7 separate regions of the Homo sapiens genome follow, and all the other regions are linked to region 1. Evidence: promoter capture Hi-C in 16 types of primary human blood cells and fetal thymus (Javierre and others, 2016). All regions are on one chromosome and are shown on one strand. The core of a region is centred on a gene start or on the middle of the fragment in contact, and the rest is flanking DNA. Distances in the headings are between cores, read along the strand shown. Region 1 holds the start of FEM1C (fem-1 homolog C). Region 2 overlaps DCP2 (decapping mRNA 2). Region 3 has its middle 41 kb from the start of APC. Region 4 overlaps SRP19 (signal recognition particle 19). Region 5 overlaps REEP5 (receptor accessory protein 5). Region 6 has its middle 20 kb from the start of REEP5. Region 7 has its middle 17 kb from the start of DCP2.

Evidence for each region. Contacts are between HindIII fragments. The CHiCAGO score rates a contact against its expected background, and 5 or more counts as called.
Region 2: a contact is called between a fragment that was not itself captured here and the fragment with the promoter of FEM1C in region 1, in 10 of 17 cell types (activated CD4 T cells, non-activated CD4 T cells, naive CD4 T cells and 7 more). The highest score is 14.9, in activated CD4 T cells.
Region 3: a fragment that was not itself captured here is called in contact with the fragment with the promoter of FEM1C in region 1 in 1 of 17 cell types (non-activated CD4 T cells); the score reaches 7.2 in non-activated CD4 T cells.
Region 4: a fragment that was not itself captured here is called in contact with the fragment with the promoter of FEM1C in region 1 in 5 of 17 cell types (non-activated CD4 T cells, naive CD4 T cells, total CD4 T cells and 2 more); the score reaches 10.8 in non-activated CD4 T cells.
Region 5: a contact is called between a fragment that was not itself captured here and the fragment with the promoter of FEM1C in region 1, in 1 of 17 cell types (non-activated CD4 T cells). The highest score is 5.0, in non-activated CD4 T cells.
Region 6: a fragment that was not itself captured here is called in contact with the fragment with the promoter of FEM1C in region 1 in 2 of 17 cell types (M2 macrophages and naive CD8 T cells); the score reaches 9.5 in M2 macrophages.
Region 7: a fragment that was not itself captured here is called in contact with the fragment with the promoter of FEM1C in region 1 in 3 of 17 cell types (M2 macrophages, non-activated CD4 T cells and activated CD4 T cells); the score reaches 7.3 in M2 macrophages.

The regions. Positions count from the first base shown.
Region 1 is chr5:115,543,464-115,547,147 of GRCh38, reverse strand. It overlaps FEM1C (fem-1 homolog C), which reads left to right and starts at 2,373. Exons shown (of 3, transcript NM_020177.3): 1 at 2,373-2,625; 2 at 3,465-3,684. The coding sequence starts at 3,655. RefSeq lists silencers at 2,083-2,422, 2,523-2,572, 2,623-2,792 and enhancers at 2,222-2,516, 2,058-2,824. The HindIII fragment of the contact is 1,787 bases long and covers 1,399-3,185 here.
Region 2 is chr5:112,981,034-112,984,729 of GRCh38, reverse strand. All of the region lies in intron 1 of DCP2 (decapping mRNA 2), which reads right to left. Among named protein-coding and RNA genes, the nearest start is that of DCP2, 6.1 kb to the right of the region's middle. RefSeq lists an enhancer at 2,753-3,288. The HindIII fragment of the contact is 7,597 bases long and covers 1-3,696 here.
Region 3 is chr5:112,695,533-112,699,181 of GRCh38, reverse strand. No RefSeq gene overlaps it. Among named protein-coding and RNA genes, the nearest start is that of APC, 41 kb to the left of the region's middle. The HindIII fragment of the contact is 274 bases long and covers 1,229-1,502 here.
Region 4 is chr5:112,862,237-112,865,894 of GRCh38, reverse strand. SRP19 (signal recognition particle 19) reads right to left here. Exons shown (of 5, transcript NM_003135.3): 2 at 3,312-3,387; 3 at 1,367-1,438; 4 at 1,163-1,274. Among named protein-coding and RNA genes, the nearest start is that of SRP19, 2.8 kb to the right of the region's middle. The HindIII fragment of the contact is 1,434 bases long and covers 1,160-2,593 here.
Region 5 is chr5:112,909,955-112,913,488 of GRCh38, reverse strand. All of the region lies in intron 2 of REEP5 (receptor accessory protein 5), which reads left to right. Among named protein-coding and RNA genes, the nearest start is that of REEP5, 11 kb to the left of the region's middle. The HindIII fragment of the contact is 597 bases long and covers 1,514-2,110 here.
Region 6 is chr5:112,940,220-112,943,830 of GRCh38, reverse strand. No RefSeq gene overlaps it. Among named protein-coding and RNA genes, the nearest start is that of REEP5, 20 kb to the right of the region's middle. The HindIII fragment of the contact is 985 bases long and covers 1,039-2,023 here.
Region 7 is chr5:112,958,069-112,961,581 of GRCh38, reverse strand. No RefSeq gene overlaps it. Among named protein-coding and RNA genes, the nearest start is that of DCP2, 17 kb to the left of the region's middle. RefSeq lists an enhancer at 1,296-1,590. The HindIII fragment of the contact is 1,819 bases long and covers 889-2,707 here.

The DNA of each region.
Region 1 (3,684 bases), core at 1,124-3,623:
GATCAGTGTTTTAAATTTATAAAGAATTGGCAAAGATTGCTGAGCCTTTTATAACCCAGAGCAATGCCTGTAAGATTCTCAAATGTCTTTCCTTTTACAAATTGGGAAACATACAGCTATTGTGAAAGAGTTGGGAAATGAGACACCTTGACCATATTCCTTTACCAGCAGATCAATTTTAGGAAAGAACGTAGGTGTAAATTGAAGATTCAGAAACTGGTAGCCTTTTTTTTTTTTTTTTTTTGACAGAGTTTCCTTCTGTGGCCCAGGCTGCAGCACAGTGGTGTGATCATGGCTCACTATAGCCTTGATCTCCCCAGCTCAGCTCAGGTGATCCTGCCACCTCAGCCTCCTGCATGCCATGCCTGACTAATTTTTTGTGTGTGTGTGCGTGTGCGTGCATGTGTGTGTGCGTGTGTGTGGAGTTGGGATTTCACCATGTTGTCCAGGCTGGTCTCGACCTCTTGGGTTCAAGCAATCTGCCTGTCTCAGCCTCCGAAAGTTCTGGGATTACAGGTGTGAGCCACAGCAGAAATTGGTAGCCTTTAAACTAAGTGTCCGTCTATCCCTTAACAATCCCATGAGGGATACAGAGCTCAGTTTGAAGATGGCTGATGTGAATGTTTACATCTTATTGAATTAGGTGAGAGAGACAGGTCAGCTCAGGTTAGGCCTTGGTTGGGACACTGTACACTGTTATCTGTACCCTGGGAGAGTATAGAACTGTGACATATGCTGGGGATAAAACAGCCAGTCCTCTTGGCTGGTTAATTTTTATGGATGGTCAATCTTATCCTTTATACTCTATTCTTTTATATTTTCTTCTCAGTGGCAATTACCTTAACTTCAGTTTTGGGAATCTGATGTTGAGTGTAGTCTGATACTGACTACCTAAGGGAAATACTATGCTATACTTAAAAATTATTAAGACTGTAAAAACATAAGAAACGTTTAGAGTATAGAAAGGAAAAGCAAAATATATAGTTGTATGAAAATTATTTCAATTATGCAAAACTACATAAACTTCTGAACAACACTACAATATACAAAAATGAAGTTGTGATTTTTTATAAATGTTTTTAGTGCTGCATGACTTCTAACATAACGTTATGGATTACATATGCTGAGGGTCAGACTGCCTACTGTAATATTCTATTTCTCCTAGTGGTACTAAGGAATTATGTGAGCTTAAGTTCCCTCAAACAAAGTGATTGAAGGTCCATTTTCAAAAATTCTGTTTTCTCATCAGGATTCATTATGGGCGTTATTTCCCAAACACATTTAAACTTTTTCATCCTAGTTTAATGCAACGTAGGTTTTAGCATCAAATTCCAGAGGTTTATCAACTACTATATGAAGAAGTAATTCTTTTCATTCATATATATAACCTTTTAAGCTTTAGTTCCCGATTTATTACTCAGAGCTCAAGAACCTGACCTCATTGACTTTACATTGCTCTTAGGGTTTACCATTCCTCGTAGCCTTTATGCTTTTTAGAGGCTACTTTAGAAAGAGAGTCAGTTTGACAGCCTCCAAAACTAATCACATTTTCTGAAATTTCAGTTTCCTCCGTGTGTGTTCTGAGGTGTAATTACGAGCTTGGTAATTTCCAGGGCCCACCAAAGTAAGGACGGAAGACTAGTCCGAGAGACTTCACGTGTGTGAGGGTAATACTGGTCCGCACCCAAATTTGAATTTTAGCTCCCATGATTCCCACATATTGTGGGAGGGACCTAGTGGGAGATAATTGAATCAAGAAGGCTGTTTCCCCCATGCTGCTCTGGTGGTAGTGAGTACGTCTCAGGAGAGCTGATTGTTTTATATGGGGTTTCCCTTTTTCCTTGGCTCTGATTTTCCTCTCTTGCCTGCTGCCATGTAAGACGTGCCTTTCCCCTTCTGGCTTGATTGTGAGGCCTCCCCAGCCACGTGGAACTCTGAGTGCATTAAATCTTTTTATCTTTATAAATTACCCAATCTCGGGTATGTCTTTATCAGCAGCGTGAAAACGCACTAATACACTTCCCTTCTGGGGTCTCTGAGATGGGACCGAAAGATTCCCTAAGGGAGCACCCCGAAAATCCGAGAGGAGAAGAGCCAGCGAGATCTCAGAACTCGAGCTGCCTCGGGCCGCTTCGATGGGCACAGATCCGCCCCCTCGCAGCGCCCCGCCCCCCAGCGCGTTGCACGCAGGCACGTCCTCCCAGTAGTTCAGGCCCCGCCCCCTCCCCGTCGCCCCACCCCGGCCGCGACGCCCCGCCCCGCGCCTAGGCTGTTGCTGGCCGCGGCCGCCGCCCTCCCCCGGCCCAATGGCGTGGCGGCACAGTCAGTGATGTGACGCTCAGGCTTGTCCGGCCCCCGGCTCGCAGCCCATTACACCATCCGTCGCAGCAGTCGCTGCAGCCGCTGCAGTCCGAGCCGACTAAGGGCGGGAGGCAGCTCGGGTGGCGGGGCGTGGCGAACAGCGCGGCCGGATTCATTCCTTTGGGGCGCGGAGCATGGAGGAGCTGTGCGGCCGCAGGCGGAGCAGGGCGGCCCGGGCGGCGGTGGGGACAACGGTTTCCCTTTGAAGGGGACGGACAAAGCCCGAGTGACCAGCGGCGGCGGGGAGGACTAGTCCCCGGGCAGGTAGTGGCGGCGGCAGCGGCCTGCCAGGGCTCGGGCCGGGGCCTGAGGTGCCCGCGGAAGGCCTGGGCGGGAAGGAGGGCGCCGGGGGAGCCGAAGGCGGGCAGCGGGCTGGAGGCCACAGCTTGGCCCATCGGGAGGGGGTTGTGGTCGATGGAGGAGATTGGGAGGGGGCTGCCGTTGTCTGGAACAGGGAGAGGGGAAGGTTGTGTTGGGGCGACTGTGGTTTGAGGAACCTGCGGATCATCCCTTGGCGGGGGGTGGGGGGTGATCGAAATGGGGCGGGCGAAGTTAATGACTAAAAGGCAGGCGGATTTCCTGAGAGCCGTGAGTAGTTTTAAAGGAAAGAGAATCTTTCGGGGCACAGTTTTGGCCTTAGCCGGGGTTTGGTGTGTCCGACCTTTTTGTTCTTTCTCGAAACCCGGCCTCAGGCCTTCCAGCCTGGCGCCCTTGGCCAGCTCTCCTGCAGTTGCAAGAAAGAGAAACATTTCTGAACCCGAGTCTCCTGCCTCTTTCGGTTGTACTCTCCCTGGGCGTGTGCAAAGCAAAACTAGAACAAAGCTTGGCTGGTTAGAGCTGGAGGCGAGAAAACGGGCTGCCTGTAGTGTTTAAATTTTCCGCACATGGAGGAGACTGCCTGCGACCAGAACATTTGGGTCTCTGTGTATCCTTCTGTATTTTTCTTTACCACCTTTTCTTTGGGGGTGGGGGGGGTGTGTGGGATGGAGTAGTGCCTGAAGTATAGCTTTTATTCCTTTCTTCCCACAGAAGTGGAAATTAAGAAGTGTTTTGCCTTCTTCTATAGAAAATTAAATGCTGCTACTTTTTTTTTCTTTCTCTAGTTTGGTGCCCTGGTTGTCAGATGTTGGAAAGCAGTAGGACGGAACATACTCTTCGTGGTTGTGTATCCGTTCTGGGGTGCAGCAATTAACATTGGACTTTGGTTCCTGTGACTCTTGCCTGTGTCGATAGAGTTAAACTGGAGCTCTGCTTTGAAAGATAAATAAAGCACAGCCTCTCAACTGGACATAAATGGATCTAAAGACAGCAGTATTTAACGCA
Region 2 (3,696 bases), core at 245-2,744, 2.6 Mb after region 1:
TCAAATATATATATATATATATATATTTTTTTTTTTTTTTTTTAATTAAGAAATAAAAACAACACTGCAACACTGGAGTAGCAAAAGGCATTTTAATCAGGTTTTTAGAGATTGCAATTTGGGAGACACAAGTCTAGCAAGCAGCTAAATCATGTTGCATTCAGGCAAGGTTAGGCAGAGCTTTTAAGGGCTACTGTAAATTTACGTATCTGGAAGGTTTTAGCACAGTCCATGATAAATGATGGCTGGTTGTCAGCTCAGGATGTCTCTAGTCAATGATCAATATAGTTGGGTATGGTTATCTCTCCAGGCGGTTGATCAGGCCCAGTATATACAACTCAAGTCAAATGCAGCTAGTTTTACACTTTGGCCCAGTTCAGCAGGTGAAACTCCATCTAGATGTGTATGTGACCAGGATCCAACTCCTTATGCCCTCCTGGCTCCTTTTTGGATATTCTGACATAATCATCTCCATTGTGAATTTTCTTTTCAGATCCATCAGTTTCATTTTGGATTTTTTTTCCCCACAATTCAGATTCATCAGTTTCATCTTTAAGACTTCTAGTCTTCTGATCTGTTCTAGTCTGGATCAGCTGTCCTCTACACCTGGTACACATCTGTCAACTCTACACTGCCCTTTCACAAGCATCCTATAGTTCCCTGTGCCTTTATCCCACAGAGGTCATGTGTCTTGTCTTTTTGTTTTCATCCTCCTTAATTCACTTCCTTGTTTTCATGAAGTAATCCTCACATATCCTGTGAAGGAAGGATGCAAAGGGGAGGTAAATACTATATTTTAAGATACTACACATCTAAAATGTCTTTATCCTCATACTTGATAATTTGGGTAAAGAATTCTAAGTTGGAAATGATTTTCTTTCAGAATCTTCAAAAGTGTTCTTAATTCCAACTTGCAATTTTGATATTGAGAAGATCGAAGCCATTCAGATTTTTTTTCTTTTTACTTCTAATTTGTGCCAAGGACAAAAGCCATTCAGATTCTTAATGTTTTGTATATGACCTTTTTTTTTCCCCAGTCTGGATGCTTCTAATATCTTCCTTCCATCCCCAGTGTTGTGAAATTTTGCAGTGTCTATTTTTGATCCACTACACTGTCATTCCATAGACTATACATACTTGGAAACTCATATCCTTCAGTGCTGAAAGGTCTCGTAAGTCAATCCTACTGTGAGTCTTTATGTTTCTATACTGCCTTGCCAGGCATGGTAGTACATGCCTGAAATTCCAGCTACTAAAGCCAAGGAGTTCAAATTCAGCCTGGTCAACAATGTGAGACCCCGTCTCTATTTTTTTAAAAAAATACCCCCCATATCAATTACATTAATTTTGCTTTTCATTTTTCCCAGTTCTCCTCAGCCCGCTCTGTTGAAATGCTGAAATTTTAACTGTCAGAGGCAACCGTAATATTGCCTTAGGGACTTGTGGGGAAGGGGAGGGGAATTATTCAGCGTAGTGTTTTAACTTTCAGAACCAAGTAGTCTATTTTCTCTATGTAAGAAATGTGTTTGTCTTACTTGAAGAGAAACCCAGACTTCATCAGTTTTTGATAACATCTTGGTTTCTGAAGGAACTTCAATCTGTAATTGGCATTCAGAATGCCCTTGGCATGGCAGTCTGTGTGATGGCATTTAAGACCTGTGAAATCCTTGAGCCCAACTTGATTAATCAACACTGATAACCACCACCTTTATCCTTTAAAGTCTGCTTTATCTGTATTTTAAAAAATGAAAAACCCTCAAGTGTAAGAGCCAGCTCCCTATCTACTCACATAAAGGAGAAGCGTATTAATGAATAAACCTCCCAAATGTCTCATCATTAATATAAAAAGGCATCCAAAAATCACCTACCATCTAAGGAAAATGTGAAGCATGACAAGAAAGTTTTTTAACTGACGCTGAAGAAAACATAATTGAGGAACCAGAAGAAAACAGGAGTGAGGGTTGAAAGATGGAATTATTATCCTAAAAGAAATTTAAAAGAGTATTCCTTTTTCAGAGCAACTGTATTTTTCTTTAAATGTACAGTAACTAAGTAAGAGCCCTCGGGGGGAAAAAAAACTATTATTACTATAACCAACGGAAGCAGTGGAAGGTAGTATTAAGGATATCACCTAGACACTGGTACTCAAAATGTGGACGCTAGACCATGTGGGAACTAAGTGTGAAAACAGAAACAGGTATTTTACACATTAAAGGACTCAGTTTACTTCCTAATGAACCCCCTCAAAGAAATTAACTTAAAATGCGCACAAGCAAAACAAGAATGAAAACCAAGAAAGGATGAAACATGATATTCAAGAAAGAGTAAGTACCATCTCAGAGAGTTGTGAAAGTGAATTCTAGTATTCTAGTTGCTAGGCAAGTCTGAGGAGCAACGAGTCCAGACTGGATTAGGAGGATGGAGGTCCCCAAGAGTGCAGTCTAAAGGGAAAAAAGGATTCTGTCGAAAGTATGATTGAGGATAAGATAAGGAAGCGGATGAGAAGGGTTGAAAAAAGCAGCTAGAAACTTTGGACATATTAGAGAGGAGTACATGTACAACAGAATCATAGTCCAAATGTGAAGCAAAAACACCAAAGTTAGAACAGAAAGCCAACTGTCCCCTCCCCTCAAAAAAATGGATTTCAAGAATAGCCAGAAGGGGCCTGGCATGGTGGCTCCCGCCTGTAATCCCAGCACTTTGGGAGGCCATGGCAGGCGGATCACCTGAGGTCAGGAGTTCAAGACCAGCCTGGCTAACACATGGTGAAACCCCGTCTCCACTAAAAATATAAAAAATGGTGTGGTGGAGGGTGCCTGTAATCCCAGCTACTCGGGAGGATGAGGCAGGAGAATCGCTTGAACCCAGGAGACACGGGTTGCAGTGAGCTGAGACCACATCATTGCCTCCAGCCTGGGCAAACGAGCAAGACTCCGTCTCAAAAACAAACAAACAAAAAGGCTAGAAGGAATCAAGCAATAGTAACAAAAGCATATATTTCTTTCCCCAAAGAAAAAACTAAATGGTACCATCATTTTGACCAATTTGTAGGATATAAGAACGGAGAATTCATTCAGATATTCTGCAAGACACTTACAAAGGGCTCCTGACTATGCCCCGATGGAAAAGAAACTAGCCGCTGAAGACTTGCCTCTACTGTAAAAACTACATATCTATTTACACTGTATCATTATTGTTCAGCTTTTACAATCAACAAATAGCACAAAATATAACAGACGTAGATTTACAAAATAGAATATAAATATTATCAACCCTAATTTTTTTCAAGTTAATCTGGATAGAAGCCGAGGGAATGGGCAAGAAAAAATGAGGCACTAATCATCTCACCATATCAGAGACTCAAGAAATACTGTAAGTTCGTAAAACAAATATAATTTTAAGTATATTAAAGTCACAAAGGGGCCAGCATGGTAGTTCACACCTGTAATCTCAACACTTTGGGAGGTTGAGGCAGGAGGATTGCTTGAGGCTACAAGTACGTTTGAGACCAGGCTGGGCAAAGATCCCATCTCTACCAAAAAAAAATGTATTTAATACCTGGGCATGGTGGTACATGCCTATAGTCCTAGCTACTCAGGAGGCTGAGCCAAGTGGATAGCTTGAGTCCAGGAGTTGGAAGTTGCAGTGAGCTATGATCATGCCTGGGCAATGGTGCAAGACCCTGTCTCTAAAAAA
Region 3 (3,649 bases), core at 116-2,615, 2.8 Mb after region 1:
AAACATTGTTTTTTCTTGGAATCCATGGGGAATTGGTTTCAAGCTCCTGAGAATACCAAATTCCACAGATACTTGTTTCTTATATAAAATGGCACAGTATTTGCATATAATCCAGGCATATCCTCTGTATATGTTAAATCACCTCTAGATGACTTTATAGACATGCTCTGCTTAACGACAGGAATACATTCTGAGAAATGCGTTTGGTGATTTTGTTATTGTGCAAACATCATAGCATGTACTTACACAAGCCTAGATGGTATAGCCTAGGACACACATAGGATATATGATCTAGCTTATTGCTCCTAGGCTACATACTTATACAACAGGTTACTGCACTGAATACCGTAGGTAATGGTAACACAATGGTAGGTGTGTGTATATTTAAACATAGAAAAGTTACAGCAAAAATATAGAATGATAATTTTAGGAAATCATCGTTGTATATGTGGTCTGTTATTGACTAAAATATTGTTATGCACTTCATGATTGTAATACCTAATACAGGATAGATGCTATGTAACTTGTTGTTATACTATATTGGTTTTTATTTTTATTATTTTCATTGTTATATTGTTATTTTTATTGTTCTTTTTCTAAATATTTGTGATCTGCAGTTGGTTGAATTTATGGATGCAGAACCCACAGATATGGAGGATTTTGAGTGTACTAGAAAATCAAACCCAATAATATATTTAAAAAAAATATGACATGGCAAGTAGGATTTCTCCCAGGTATGCATGGCTAGTTCAATATTCGAAAATCAATGTGATCTACATTATCTACATACAACAGGCTACAGAAGAAAATTCATGTGTAATCACATCATTTGATACAGAAAAAGCATTTGACAAAATGCAACACCCTTTCATGATAAAACCTGGGTCTGTTCCCTGCCCAATAACTGCATAAAAGGGAATAAATTTGTGACTATTGAGAATGAAGAATGTTCCATCAGCTGATGAGAGATTTGGCAAGTGTCTAGAAGACAAGAAATGATGGATGAACCAAGGTGGAAGACATGCTCCAATCCAGAACATAAACTGCCTTATGGAGAGGCCCACCTGACGTGGAATTGAGGGAGGCCTCTGCCCAAAAGCTAGTGAAGAACTGAGGTTCTTAGTCCAACAGTTCATGAGGAACTCCCTGCCATCAATCATGTGAGAGAGCTTGGAAGTGACTCTCCCAGTCAAGGCTGCAGATGATAGCACAGACTTGGCTGAAAGCTTTATGAGAGACCTTGAAGCACGGGTACCTAGGTAAACCATGCTCAAATTCCTGACCAATAGAAACTGTGAAAAAAAAATACTTCTTGTTATAAGCTGCTAAATCTTGGTATAATTTGGAAGGCAGACATGAGAAGGTATGAATTCCATTTCCAGCAGTAATTGAATTGGTCATAGAGCAAGTTTGAAAATCTTTATGACACCAATTATACATGTTTCTTCTTTTTTTGTTTCTCTTGTGCCTGTATCAACATTTCACTCATGATACACTAAGCTTCCCTTCTTTTAAGCTCCACCTATTTCTTAAAACTTTCCAATTAAAGTGGCTGAATGCAATAATCAGCCAGAGACTCTGTGCTTTTCTGTCTAATGACAAAAAAAAAAAAAAAAGGAAAACTCTCCATCTGGGTAGAAATTGATAATTAGCCATATCCAATTCCTGGACATCTGGCTTTTAAATGAAACTGAGCATAGCAATGTCTCCTCCCTCGGCATTATTTTACTGAAAGTGCTACGTATTCTTCTAGTACTTAAAGGGACAGCACCAATGTAACTTGAATATCAAGTTACTAAAGATTTGTCTCAATTGTTTTTCATACTACCAAAATCTTAGCTGTTTATCATAGAAAATTTGGAAACTCCAGAAAATCTCAAGAAGAAAGAAAAAAATCTCACCATTCAAGATAAGAATTGTCACCATTTTGGTGGTGCTCTTTCCAGGTTTACTTTAAAATGAAAGGCATTTCAGAATAACAATATTGCCCTCTACAATAAATCCTCATTTTATAAAAGCATATTTTAATGAATAAAATTTAACAAAGAAAACCAAATCATTTATTTCACTGAAATTCACATCAATATCTTGACACAGTTTATGGTTTGGCTGATGACATTGATAATCCGCCCTAACAACCAGTCTGAGTAGCTCAGGGGAACATCCCACAAGACCAAAGCAGCCCCAGCAGCACGTTGAGAGCGGTGGGGCTCAAGAGAAACAACATATGTTTGCATCCGCTCTCCCTTCATGCTGCTACAGCTCCCCCGTCATTTGGGGTTGGGGAGGGATCCAGAGACTTGCACCAAGATCTTTAGTAGACTGGAACCAGCTTAAAGAACTGAGAGAAAGTCAGTTTAGAGATTTTATGAGTTGGCAATTACACACAGCTATTATTAAAAATTAAATAATATAAAATTGCAATTCAATAAATTATATTGAAAACAAAGGTAATAAGCACTCAAAACTCATCACTTTCAAATCATTTTCTCACATTTAACCATTTCCTATGCTCCTGATGCCATTCCATCTCTTGTATCTAAATGGTGGAAAAACTGTATAATGTTCTAGGGCACATCTACTCAAAACACTAAGTTCAATGATGTCACATTGGTAGTTTGAAATTGGCCAGAGCGAGAGCATTTACACCAGGGAACTCAAGAAATGCTCAAAATCTGGGCTTGACTTATTGTTTTGTTGATAGTCTAGTGATGGAGAAAATGTTAATGCTGTACATTAAAGTTAAAAGCGTGTCACGTCTATTGCTCTTACTTTGCGAATAGCACACAGATTGAGGAAATATTATTCCGGTATTTAAAAACCATTATCAAATTCTTCCAAGTCGCTCACATTATAGACAAATAAATAAAGTTCTAACATATATCTTTGTTGTTTCATTTTCATCTTACTCATTAATGACTAAGAAAATATCAGCCAGGATTCTTGTCAAAACTACACTTGTTTGTTATTTATAATGATAGGTTGGCTACAGATACAAAAGTTCAGCAAAAATCAATGAAACAATCATGGGCAAAAATCAGGAGAATTATTGGCTATATGAAAGTCACATTAAAGAACATTTTCTGTTTTGCTAATATTTATACACTATGTGCTATATACTCTTTTTTCTCTATTTTTTCTTTTTGTTTGTTTTTTTTTTTTTGAGATGGAATCTTGCTCTGTTGCCCAGGCTGGAGTGCAATGGCATGATCTCGGGTCATTGCAACCTCTGCCTGCGGGTGCAAGCAATTCTCCTGTCTCAGCCTCCTGAGTAGCTGGGATTACAGGCGTGTGCCACCATGCCCAGTTAATTTTTGTATTTTTTTTTTTTTATTAGAGATGGGGTTTTGCCATGTTGCCTTGGCTGGTCTTGAACTCCTGACTTCAAGTGATCTACCTGCCTCAGCCTCTCAAATTGCTGGGAATTATAGGCGTGAGCCACTGCACCCAGCCTGTGCTATATACTCTTCATATCAGTAAAATTTAAAAGAAACTTTAGTTTGTGTGTGTGTGTGTTTGTGTGTGTGTGTGTTTGTGTGTGTGTGTGGGTGTTTCAGAGAGCTGGTTACTAATCATTTACCAGTGTACTACTGATTAGAAGCAAATGCTTCCTTTTGCCCTACTCGACTTAGCCCCCAGCTAATCCCTT
Region 4 (3,658 bases), core at 627-3,126, 2.7 Mb after region 1:
TCAGGCCGGGGGCAGTGGCTTATGCCTGTAATCCCAGCACTTTGGGAGGCCGAGGTGGGTGGATCACGAGGTCAAGAGATCGAGACCATTCTGGCCAACATGGCGAAACCCCATCTCTATCAAAAATACAAAAGTTAGCTGGGTGTGATGGCACATGCCTGTAGTCCCAGCTACTTGGGAGGCTGAGACAGGAGAATCGCTTGAACCAGGGAGTCGGAGGTTGCAGTGAGCTGAGATCGCGCCACTGTACTCCAGCCAGAGCGAGACTCCATCTCAAAAAAAAAAAAAATCAAACAAGCTGTCAGTTCGTCTGACGATTTCATTATTTTTAAGTAAATTTAATGACAGTTTAATTAAACTGAGGGGGTTATTAAACTGAAAGAAAAAATTAATAGCTCTGTTTTAAAAAATTAAAATTTTCAGAGATGAAAATTCAGAAAAATAAACAACATGCAAACAAAAACTTATCTTCCTAATATTCAGAACATTCTGTTATATTGATGTCGTTTTGCTATTGTTTTTCATAAAATAAAACACTAGAGATGATGCAACAGTCTTCTATGACCATCAACCCGTGTCTCTACTCTCTACCCCGCTCACCATTAGGTGACTACTCTCTTAAGAATGAGTGTTTCCTTACAGAGCATTTCAAAAAAATGCCAATAAGCAACATTACATATGCATCTATCAATAAATAGTAATATTTTGTATTTAAATTTACCTAAGTGGTACCACACTATGTATATCTCTTGCTTTTTTCAGTCAATATTGCTTTTCAGATTTATTAATGATAGAATCATTAGATATTATAGATATTAACAGACCTCAAGGACCTCTAGGATCTGAAATGGCAATTAACATCCAACGATTTAATAATTTTATATTCTTAACCTGGGAGCAATGACAGACTTCCAGAGGTTTATAAAATGTTCACACAACAATTTTTTTGAAAAATGTTTAGTGGGTCTCATTACATTTTCAAAGAGGTCATTCACCTCAAAGAAATTAGAACTACTGCTTCTCTCCATGAGCAGTAGTCCTGTCTTTAAATTAATCTTCAGAATGCAAATTCTGACTTTTACCTTTCAGTTTTAGAACCTTTTTTGTGTTGTGTAGGAGAAACCTATCCCTGAGCCCCACTGATTCATTTAAACAAGCTTACGTGATGGGAACTGTACAAGGCAGAGGCTCCCATCTTCCTGTTTGAGCTGGACCCGGACTCTGCCTCTGTATTGGACATCACGATTCCATTCTCTAGAGTACATTTTATTTTTCTAACATAAACGAAACAAAAGAAAAACAGGACTTAAGAAAGTTATTACATCAATTAGATGAGTATGGAAAATAGTGAAGAACCACGTCATACCTCAAGAAATACGTTAAGTCCAACTGCTGAACATACATCTTGAATCTCTGTAGCTGTAGGATTTTCAACAGCCTGAACAGTTAAAAACATAAACACTAAATATATGTGCTTTAAGTGGACACTGCCATAGTGTTGGGTAAATAATTTCAAATACTATAATCAAACAAGTACCAAAACCCTAGGTTTCCTTTTTCATTAAGTACAGATGCTTCTATTGTAATTTTAAAAATTCCTAGGAATAACACTAATGCGTAACTGTGTGCCCATCTCCCCTCCAACAGAACATAAACTTCTGAGGGCAGGGGCTTTGTTTTGTTAACCAGTGTATTCCCCAGCACCTAGCATGGTACTCTCAACATAGTAGGTGCTCAATGATTATTGACTGCTTAAACAATTACACATACAAACACTTTAGAAAACTGCTAGTATCTACTAAAGCTGAATATATGCATTCTCTATGGCCCTGCAATTCCATTCCCAGATGCGTTCTACAAAAAAGCAAAAATATGTTCTCTAAAAAACATCTATTTATAATAGCCTCAAACTATTAATAGAAATAATCCAATTTTCCATCCAGAGTAGAAAGGGCCAGGTGTGGTGGCTCACACCTGTAATCCCAGCAGATCACTTCAGCTCAGGAGTTTGAGACAAGCCTGGACAACATGGAGAAATCTCATTGCTACAAAAAAATACCAAAGTAGCCGGACATGGTGGCATGTGCCTGTAGTCCCAGCTACTCAGAAGGCTGAGGTTGGAGGATGGCTTGAGTCCAGGAGGTGGAGCCTGCAGTGCGCTGAGACTACACTGCCGCACTCCAGCCTGGGTGACAGAGCCAGACCCTGTCTCTTAAAAAAACAAACAAAAAAGAAGGTAGAAAAGACTTTGGCATACTCACACCATGCGATACTATAGAGGAGACAGGGCAGTAGTTTTGAGCAGGGAAATTCTGTCCTCAGCCTCCCTACCCCTACCCACACACAAAAGACATCTAGCAATGCTTGGAGACATTTTTGATTGTCACAACTAGGGGATGGGGGGCTGGAGGGGGCTGACCTGTCATCTAGTGGGTAGAGGCCAGGGATACTGCTGAACATCTTAAAATGCACAGAACAACCCCCAACAACAATTATCTAGCTCAAATCGGCAATGGTGCTGCTATTGACAAACCCTGTTATAGAGCAATGAAAATTCAACTACATTCAAATATGTAGGTAAATCTCAAAAGCTTAAAGTTCAGTGAAAAAAAGATACAAAATTACATAGTGTGTAATTCCATTTACAGAAAACTGAAAAAGCAGCAAAAGTAATCTATGGTGTTGAAGTCATAACGGTGGTCATCCTGGTATTTTTGAGCATATGCGGAGGCGACAGTGACTGAGAGGGAACATAAAGCAATCTTCCTGGATGCTTGTAGTGTTTTCTTTTTTGAGTGCTTGTTACCACCCAGATGTACTCATCATGGGAGAATTCACTGCATCAAACCTAGGTGTCTTAAATCTGTCATATTACAAAATACAAATGACACTTTAATAAAACTCAACAGGGCTGAACTTTCTGCATGTCTTCTTCACACACTTAAAAAAATCTCAACTACATTCTGAACATTATTAATGTATCGTACAATGTCATAATTTTGATTTCCTATATCAAGGGAAACACCGTCATAACCTTTGTTTTAAAAACATGTGAACTCTACACTCTGCCCCCACTCCTTTACAAACAAAGGCTCATTAAGAGACGTTAAAAAAATATCCCTTCAGCTATGAATTAATGCCTTTCTGGTTTCACCAACACTGAGGAACGCACCCCAATTCTTGGCTGTGTTCTCAAGCCCTAAATAAATGCAGTGAAGAGAACCCCCTGCGGCTCTAACAAGATTACGTGGCCCGACCAGGATGACACCCCCCATTCCCTCGAGGATCAAGGTGCCAGCCATCTTGCTTACCTTACTTATGGGGATTCGCCTTCCCTCTGCGATGGTCTTCTTATTATTTAAATAAGCAGGATAGATACAAATAAACCTGCCATAGACAATAGCATAAGTGGTATCACTAGAGCAGTAAGAGGCAGGAGAAAAGGGTCGGGTGGCAGGGAACCAAAGGCCAATTCATGCTGCCTAGATATCAGATGGGTACTCCCTTTTCAACCCCTCCTTTTTCTGCGTGGCAGTTGAAAAATCAAAGTACCTCGGAGTGGTCCCCTCGAGCAACTAATCAGACTGGCCGCGGGCCTACTCCTCTTTCTGATTGATCCCCCTCCCTCAACCAATCAGACTGGCACAGGTCAATGGGA
Region 5 (3,534 bases), core at 563-3,062, 2.6 Mb after region 1:
ATGACTCACTGCAGCCTTGACCTCCCAGGCTCTAGCTATTCTCACTCCACTGCCTCTGTAATCTTTTTTCTTTTCTTTTCTTTTTTTCTTTCTTTCTCTTTCTTTCTCTTTCTTTCTTCTTTCTTTCCTTTCTTTCTTTCTTTTCTTTCTTTTCCTTTCTGTCTGTCTGTCTTTCTTTCTTTCTGTCTTTCTTTCTTGATGGAGTTTCCCTCTTGTTGCCCAGGCTGGAGTGCAGTGGCGCAATCAGCTCACTGCAGCCTCCACCTCCCGGGTTCAAGCGATTCTCCTGCCTCAGCCTCCCAAGTAGCTGGGATTACAGGCATCTGCCACCAATTTTTTGTGTTTTTAATAGAGATGGGGTTTCACCATGTTGGCCAGGCTGGTCTTGAACTCATGACCTTAGGTGATCCATCTGCCTTGGCCTCCCAAAGTGTTGGGATTACAGACATGAGCCACTGTGCCCGGTCAGTCTTTCATTAGTCTTTCTCGTACTGTTTGTTGGTTTTCTCTCTTGCTTTAAAAGCACATATACTCTGCAGTGAAAAAGATATGTAACTTTCTGATCACGCATAGTTTCCTGCCTTCTTTTTTTCTATGAAGGAGAAAAATATTTTCCTTATTGGCATGGAAACGAACTAGTGTTTATGTCTTAAAATGTCTGATTCTTTTTTCCTTCTTATTTGAGGTACTGATAATAGGAAAACCATTTTGAATTACTAAGAATTCCTACATCATACTCTCTGATAAATACAGCCAAAAGCAATCCCATGCATGGTGGGCATGGAGGATGGTCAAGTTATGTGTCTGCCATAACAAAAAGGATTATAAACATTATGGTCCATGTTCTTCATATTCAATTTCCAAAGAACCTATCTTAACCTCTGGAATATTTGCTATTAAACATAAGTTACCACATTAGAAATAAAATATAAAGCAGATGGACCAGAAGATGATTCCTTTCTGTTCTTTACCAATAGGACATCTTAAAGCTTTTTATCCATATATATGGATAAAATTAAAATATATATGGGTATAAATGGATATATAGATATATTTTAATGAACTGCTTTTTTTTCCACACTGTCAGTCTCTGGTAAATAGTTGATATTGGTACAACTGGTTTGAATAATAAAGCCAATGCTGTGAAGACATACTATTACTTAATTTTATGTCATTTGGCTAGTTTGAATTGTAGCAACTGAGTTACTTATGAACCATGCACAGAACACATAGTATGTACCTATGTGTCTTAGGTGTGAGTAGCCAAAAGCATGTGTATATGGAGCTGATTATTACCTCTTGAGCAAACAGCTTAACTTTTATAAAATTCAGTTTTCTCATATGTAAAAGGTGGGGATAGGGTTGGGGGGAGTTGGGATAATATATGTCAAACGTTTAGGACAAATCAGGCATTCTGTAAGTGCTCAATTAAGGGGAGTTAGTTTCATTAACATATAAAGAGGAAAATTGACTTAATCATAGTCATAGTTCTTTAACTTTGTGTCATTAAGCTTTTCATTGATTTAAGGAAAAACCTTCCTAAGAGTATTTTCTTTCATTTATTTTTTCACTTTCATTTTTTGTTCCTTGTCTTATTATTTTTTTCCTGTACTTAAATCAGCTTAAGACATCATTATTCAAAGAATAAAACACAGTAAAGTTTTGTTCTTCCAAGTTAAAAATATGTGATATGGCTAGTGGTTTTCTTCTGTACTGGTACAATGGTGTATATGTTCCTAAGCATTGAGTATAAGTTGGACTAACAATTTTTTAATATTAAATCTTATGCATAAGAAATGTGAACTTGGTCCTAAAAGCAAGAACTCAAAACAGAAATATAAAAAGGTTGTACAGTTCACATATAAAAAAGCATTTGATCTATTTTGCATGGTAAGAACAAAATAGATCTGAATTAAGAACTTGTAAAAGTGGATGTTTTTCCAGATGGATTTATTGTGTCTGAAATAATTTGAAAAATAGTATGGAAGGTTGTCCCTTTCCTGTCTCCCTCCAAGTAAGCATTAGCTGTAAGTATTTTGAAATATTGATTGATAGATGAAACCTCAGCAAAAGAAGAAGAGCACATTTTGACCAATACCGAGCTTAAGCTTAGCTTAGAAAGCTTTTGGTGATGATGCACACCTTTTATGTCAGTTCAGTGAGCTGCAGCCATTTACAGTGGCCTAAAGAATAATGACCTTGAATTACCTCATGTAAGAAGTCTGGAGGTTGAAATTTCAAGGCGCTACAGCAGAAATCCATGCTCTTTTCCAGCGACTTTGGAGTATAATCTTCCTCGCCCACGCCTGTTTCCTTAATATATAACAAGATTGTTGCCATATAGCGCTAAGGCTTTCAAGAGCAGGAAGCTGGAAGACCTTTTATTTGTGCGCCTCTCATATTTTATCAGCAGAGGAAAATTTTGTCCCAAAGCCTTCTACCGTATTTCCTTTTCTGTTTCATTGGTCAGAACTGTGTCACATGGATACCCTTAACTCCAAGGGGGCTAAGAAAGTCAGTATCTAGCAAAAAGCAATGGGATTACCATGGTGGATTTGTACTAACTTTGATTTATCCCCTAGGCCTGGGGCAGGAGCCTAGCTTCCCTGAGTCAAGACAGATTTGCCAGGTACATGTATATAAAATCAGGGCTCTGTGGGTGAGTAGGAAGGACTGGCTAATTGATAGGCAAGGAACAGTGTCTGCTATTTCCTTGAGCAATGATAGTGACCGGTTGCTGTAATAGGATTTTTGAAGCAGCAGTGTTACCATGACAATCTGATCATGCTGGTGACCATCATTCAGCAGTGAATAGTTAACTGCCAGGCAGTGTACAATGGAGAGATTGAGCTGCAGATATAAATTTGGAAGTTATTAGCATATATATGGTATCTAGATTTATGGGGACAGATACTCTCTCCAGATCAAAACAACCAAAATGGCATGATGGTAATAAAATAGTTTTAAAAATCTGGTATTATAGAATGCCTAGGTGGTAAGTGAAGTTTTTTTTTCTCTTTTTTGTTTTTAAATGGATTTTATTTTTTAGAGCAATTTTAGGTTCACAGTGAAATTGAGCAGAAGATACAAAGATTTCCCATGTACCCACTACGCCTACACATACACAGCCTCCTCTACCATCAGCATCACCTACAAGAGGGGTATGTTTTTGTCTTTGTTTTTTTTTGAGATGGAGTCCTGCTCTGTCGCCCAGGCTGGAGTGCAGTGGCACGATCTCAGCTCACTGCAGCTCCACCTCCCGGGTTCAAGTAATTCTCCTGCTTCAGCCTCCCGAGTAGCTGGGACTACAGGTGCACACCACTATGCCTGGCTAATTTTTGTATTTTTAGTAGAGACGGGGTATCACCATGTTGGCCAGTCTGGCCTTGAACTCCTGACCTCAAGTGATCCACCCTCCTTGGCCTCCCAAAATGCTGCGATTACAGGCGTGAGCCATTGTGCCTGGTCAGAGTGCTGTTTTTTATAATTGGTGAACATACATTGACACATCATTGTCACCTAAAGTCCTTAGAG
Region 6 (3,611 bases), core at 282-2,781, 2.6 Mb after region 1:
GCTGGGATTACAGGCACCCGCCACCACGTCTGGCTAATTTTTGTACTTTTTGTAGAGATGGGGTTTTGTCATGTTGCCCAGGCTGGTCTCCAACTCCTGAACTCTAGTAATCCGATCACCTCAGGCTTCCAAAGTGCTAGGATTACAGGTACGAGTCACCACGCCTGACTTAAATTATTCTATCATTAAAAAGTTTTCATTTTTACCCCAAATGAAGCTTTTCATCTTAAATTTTATTCGTGACTCATGCCTGTAATCCCAGCGCTTTGGGAGGCTGAATTGGGGGGATCACTTGAGGTCATGAGTTTGAGACCAGCCTGGCCAACATGGCAAAAACCCATCTCTACTAAAAATACAAAAATTAGCCAGGTGTGATGGCGGGTGCCTGTAATCCCAACTACTTTGGAGGCTGAGGCATGAGAATCGCTTTAGCCTGGGAGGCAGACGTTGCAGTGAGCCGAGATCGTGCCACTGCACTCCAGCCTGGGTGACAGAGCGAGACTCTGTCTCAAAAAAAAATAATAATAATAATAATTCTATTCATTTGCTGTTAATTCCATTATGTTATTAGCATTTCTGCGTACTCTTTTTTTTATTAGTATTTGATTGTTATATTTTTCTTTACTTTTATCTTGAAATTTCTGGATGGTTTTAAGTGGGCTCCTTGAACTATTTACACTATTGTTTGCTTGCTTGTTAATCAAATGAGATGATTTTTATCTATTAGTAAATGAATTCTATCTAATAAACTTATATAGTCAGTCATCCTGGTATATTTAAATTTATTTTTACCATCTAATTTAGGTCTTTGCTTTACTACCCTTTTTCTTTTTTTCTTTTTCTCTTTTTATTCCTGTTGCTTCTTTGGGACTGATGAAATTTTCTATATTCTTCTTTCCTTCTTTGTTGGTTTTAAGGCTATGCATAGCATTTCTATTTTTTTTAACATGAATATCTCTACATTTTTCCTATAAAGTCTCCAATTACATACACAGTGTTTTTTCCTTCTCCTGAACAAGACACAAACCTAAACAAGCTTTAATTACCTAGTAAGTACTTCCACATTATTGTTTTTATTTTTAATTTATTTTTTTGAGGTGGAGTTTCACTCTTGTCGCCCAGGCTGGAGTGCAATGGCGCAATCTCAGCTCACTGCAACCTCCACCTCCCGGTTCAAGCAATTCTCCTGCCTCAGCCTCCTGAGTATCTGGAATTACAGGCATATGCCATCACGCCCAGCTAATTTATATATTTTTAGTAGAGACGGGGTTTTGCCATGTCTGCCAGACTAGTCTCGAACTCCTGGCCTCAGATGATCTGCCCGCCTTGGCCTCCCTAAGTGCTGCGATTACAGGCGTGAGCCACTGCACCTGGCCCCCATATTATTTTTAACCCTCAAATTATTTTTTATATTGATAGTTAATTGTACTTACCAACTTATCAATTTCTATGCTTTTCATGTTTGCTTACATCTAATTTTTTCTTCCTGGGTTTACTGTTCTTCTAACTGAAGTATGTCTTTTTAGTAGATCTTTCACTGTAGGTCTGTGGTTAGTAAGTTCTCTTATTTGTATATATTTGTTTTATATATTGTACACCTAAAGATGCACTTTCATTAAGCATTTATTCTGTCTTTTCTATACAAAGTAAGCAAGTAGAAGTAGAGAAGTTTTCAATTTCTGATGAATTAATGGATCAGTGGTTGCCAACATCACACAGAGAGAGACAATCAGTTATTACATATTTTCTACAAGTCACCTACAAAGGAGTCTAGCCTGAAAATTGTACCTGAATCTGATCAAGGCCATAATCTCACTACCAATTTATAGAAAATACAGAAAACAGACAAGTGTAAATTACATGGGAATGCAATCAGCAAAATACAGATGTGGGAAACTCTACAAGTCAGATAAAACAACCCAGTTTCTTTCAGAAGTAAGTTGAAAAAGGTGGGGCAAAGGGGATTGAAGGGGTAGGTAAAAGAGACTTAAAAGATGTATATAGTTAGAAGGAAAATTAAGCTTCAGAGTTTAGAGGTGCATCATGGGCGACAGAACTATAAAGAAAGCAAGAAAGCAATGAACATAAAACTCAAGATGTAGTTACTTTCAGGGGAAAAGGAAAGGATTGGGATTGGGACAGGGTAAATGAAGGACCTCTCCTGTGGCTGCAGAGTGGACCCCATTGGGATACAGCAGAGAATGAGACCAAGGCCCAGCTCTCAGGGTGTTTACACAATAGGAGAAATAAACCAATAAATGAATAATGCAATGTCAATTAGTGATAATGGAATATAAAACATAGTTGACCCCTAGCCTCCAAATAAGTGCCAGCCGAGTTTCATTCTTAACACAGAGTACATAGAAAATATAATTACTTGATAAGGTCAATAAGAAATCAGCTTTCACAATATATTATGGCCAATTAAGAGGAAAAAGTAAAGAGAAAAGAAAAGAAATGAAGAGAGAAAAAGAAATAGGGGCATAAAAAGCAAGTCCAAACATAGAAGAGAAAGACACCCACAAAGGCATAAAAACACCCACATCCATAGGGCCAGAACTTTATGGGTAAAATATTTTATTATAGCTACAAATTCATCACTCTATATAGATATAGGGGCAGGTTGTCTTGGAGCTCTCATCTTCAGTTATTTAGTCAAGGTCTAGAGACTGTGCCAGACTTGATCATTCCAGCCCCAACACTTCCCTAGGTTTGTTCCCTATTTAGGTGGTGGCACATTATAAGTACATTTCAGACTTTTTCTGAAAGCAGATATTATAAAGAAAATGAGTGTGGGAGTAGAAGAGTATTCATCCTCAGAGGAAAAAGGACACTGAAGGGGCTGTAGAGGTGCCCAAGTAAATGCTCCAGTTTAGCCACAACTCAATCTACACACCATGAAGGCCCTTTTTCTTGCAGCCCTGCAGACTAACAAAATGGATGGTAGAGAATGCTGACTGTGCATAGAAGGCTTTCTCCCCGTGTTCACCTTGGAAGGGTCATTTATAGCTCAGTTCCTTGGATTCAAAAAGGAAATCAATCTTACCACCTATGGCAATAACAAAAATGGCAACAAAATGATTGCGGTTTTTAATTCCTTCCTGTTGTGGTAGCTTTCATTTGTCCTGTTATTGCTGGATTTATTAGAAATAACTATCCAAGTCAATAAACCAGAAAAATGCAAGCTCCATCTCATCTAGACATCCTAAATGTAGTCACAATTCACTTTAAATATGTATAGTTTATGTAGTTCACATTTTCATTTACAACAATATAGAATATTAAAATTAACTTGCAGACTATGAGATGGCAGGAGGTCATAAGGGTAATAACCATTTATCAGTGAGATCTCAACCAAATTCTGGCTTACAGGTTTTCCAGTAGAGTTGTGGTTATTTTTTCCCTTTGTAATGAAAACAGATTTGATTATGGTTGTAAAAGTAGTATTAAAAAGTAATATATATTCATTATTTTCAAAAGTTAAACAACAGGAATATATTAATATATATCAAAAACATAAAAGTTGGCCAGGTGTGGTGGTTCATGCCTGTAATCCCAGCACTTTGGGAGGCCGAGGCAGGAAGATCATTTGAGCTCAGGAGTTCAAGACC
Region 7 (3,513 bases), core at 549-3,048, 2.6 Mb after region 1:
ATGAGCAACTGCTTAAAATTACTGAAACCTATTTTTTCAGAGCTCTCATACATACTGCCTGAATCTATTTTCTGATATGATCCTAAAATTATATTGACTAAATCTTAGGAGCCATAGATAGACTACCAAAATATCAGCTGAAATAAGGGCTTGAGAGCAGCAAAGAGGGTAGTGAAAAGGCATCCTGGTCCTCCAAGATCAAAGCAGCACAGTGGGTTCCAGGCCAGTCAGTATTACAGAGCCCTTGACTGGCAAGTCAACAATATGACAGACACCATCACTGGGAGCTGCCCTCTCCAATGTCCAATCTCCTCCCTCCTCTCAGTTAAAGGCCTCATTTAAAAGCCTACATGTCCTTGTCTGTCTCACGGCCATATGCTGCTAGATGTGAAACTGCATTTGGCCAAGGAGATACAAGCATAACGGTGGTCTAGAACCCTTGGGAAGTTGTTAAAAGAAAGCAGAAGCCTCTTTTCCACCCCTTCCTCTTTGTCCCTTCCTGTCGCCAGCAATCGGTAACCTGAGCAGAGTAGCAAAATAGAACTCTCTGGTCCCTGATGACCTTGGAGCCACTAAACCAGCTCTGGAGTGCCTATTTCTAGAATTCTTTTACTGAGCGAGAGAGAGAAATAAATGTCTACTTTGTTTAAGCGATGATACTGGTTTTTTTCTGTTATATGTAGACAGTAGTCCAAACTGACATAAGTAATCCTCTCCTCATGTAGAGGCAAAGGTAGTTCTCAGTTAAGGCTTGAGAGTGCACTTTTCTTTGGATAAAAACATTTTAATAGGCCCTTTTAGCATACAAAATTAAAGCTCCAAAACTATTACAGACAGAAGAGTTTGAGACAATTGAAGGTAAACAGCTCTGAAGAATGATGCGAAGCTTTATCTTCCTCTGAGCAGAGTTGAGGCACTGCAGAAAGAGGATTATGATGTTGGAAGAAGAGAGAAGAAGCAGGCAGGAAGGATTTCCTCTTTCTAGGAAAAAAAAAAAAAAAAGGCTATAGTTGAGGGCCTGCAGCCTGGGTAGGGCTCCAGGTCAGAGAATCCCCATCTGTCATCTATGATTTCAAAGATGCTCCTAGCACCAGAGGCCTAAGGAGGGTGACAGCTGGAAGAGCAGGCCCCTGCACAGATGGATCTAGGAGCCAGAATATCAACATGCTTTCATTTTAAGGGGGATTCTTTTTCCTTTTCTGAAAAGTAATTTTCTTTGCTAAAGTCCAAGTGCAGTGAGCATCTGCCTCTTTAAAAAACAAAAAACAAAAACCAAACAAACAAAAAAACTTCTCAGCATTCATTTTCTCTCTGGAAGCATAAAGCTGTTTTTCCTTCAGGAGCAACTCCTCCCCCATTCTCATTCATGTACTCTGAGTGGGTTTGATTCCTCATTTCTAACCCCTCCACCCTCACTCCAACCTCCAAGAGCACTTGTCACCATGATTATTTAAGAAATAAGCCAGGAGGCCAGGCATGATGACTCACGCCTGTAATCCTAGCACTTTAGGAGGCCAAGGCAGGTGAATCACCGAAGGTCAGGAGTTCAAGACCAGCCTGGCCAACATGGCGAAACCCCGTCTCTAACAAAAATTAGCTGGGCATGGTGGCACGTGTCTGTAATCCCAGCTACTCGGGAGGCTGAGGCTGGAGAATCACTTGAACCAGGGAGTTGGAGGTTGCGGTAAGCCGAGATCCTGCCACTGCACTCCAGCTTGGTGGCAGGGTGAGACTCTGTCTCAAGCAAACAAACAACAAAAAATTATAGTTCGAGACCAGCCTGGCCAACGTGGCAAAACCCCGTCTCTATTAAAAAAACAAACAAACATTAGCTGGGCGTGGTGGCACACACCTGTAATCCCAGCTACTCAGGAGGCTGAGGCTGGAGAATCACTTGAACCCAGGAGGCGGAGGTTGCAGTGAGCCGAGATCGTGCCATTGCACTCCAGCCTGGGCGACAGAGCAAGACTCCGTCTCAAAAAAAACAAAACAAAACAAAACAAAAAACAAATACTAAGTCTTATTCATTCTATAGAGATCACACTGCTGCACTCCAGCCTGGGTGACAGAGTGAGACTCCATTAAAAAAAAAAAAAAAAAAAGCTAGGAACCCAAGCCAAATTGCCAAAGACCCAACATGAGGATGTCTTCTTAACTGATTGGAAAAGAAATGCTTCTTCTTTCTGTTGGGCTTGCTAAAGTGCTAGGAACATAAGCCTGGGGATTCCAGTGCTTTCTCTGCTACCACTCAGGAAAGCCTGCATAAGAATGAAGCCAAAACAGAAGAAAGCAGGAGAAAGAGATGAAGAGAAGCCACTTTCTGTTTCTTTTCTATTTTCTTTTTCAAACTCCATTACTCTGAGTAATGGAGTAATTTCTTATCTTACTGTTTGAGCCCTAGAATCCAACCGAGCCTCAAACTACATATATTCCCTGGATCTTTCATTACCTTAGCCAATACATTCTCTTTTTTGTCATTGTTGTTGTTCTTTAAAACCAGTTTGAATAGAATTTTTGTCTCTTGCAACCAAGAGTCCTAACTAACACACTAAGTCTGCTCTCACTATGTTTTGGGGGAGTCAAGGGAGAGGTCTGTACCTACATTTGGAATACATGGTTATTAGGAAAGCAAAGAAGCATTAAAAAAAAGTGATGAGAGCAAAAGATGATTGGCAGGACGGTAACCTTGGAAATAGAGACAGAAGCTTAGACCCTGCTAATTTGGCACAAACAAGAATGGCCACCAACACTTAGAGAAGTTGAGAACACTCTGATTTACAATAATAAAATTGATATATCATGAGCAAAATATGCTATCTGCAGAAAACTGTCTCATGGGTCCAAGGGGGAAGAGTTGAATTAGACAGTTCGCTAACATTATTTGCATCTTTAAAAAAACAATGAGTCACCAGGGTACACAGGGAAAGCCTGAAAGAGATCTGAGCTGCAGGGTTTGGCACTGCGCCTCAAGTCCCACAGACTAAAGAAACACTGAGTAACCAACTTAACCATCTGCTTGGCAGTACTTCCATATAATGGCTCTAATAGGACCTTTAACCTTGAAAATCACTCAGCTTAGGCTTCATTTCAATTCAACACTTTTCAAGCAACCCTGAGATTACATTTTTATATCCCATGTAACTTTCTGTCAGCACGACTAAGCACCCTGCAAAAGAGATGGAAACAGTCCAGATCAAAAATATTTGAGAGACTGGAAAGTCAAACTGCACCCTGGAAGCCAAGTACAAACAGCACATGTAGATGGTCTTAAGCAGAATCAGAATTTTGGGAAGGGATGCGGAATTGGAATGGAAGTGTGGGGTAAGGAGACCACACTGTCCAAGTCAGAGACAGAGTAATAAAAGATCAGGTTGGAAATGAACAAGATTTTGGCAACTGTTCTGATTAAACTGGGAGGGTCTGCATCTGGCCTTTGCTGGCTAGTGGCCTCTGAGGGATGGATTTGGTTTAAGGACAGAGAGCCAGGTGGCCAGCAACAGGGCCAAGAAATTT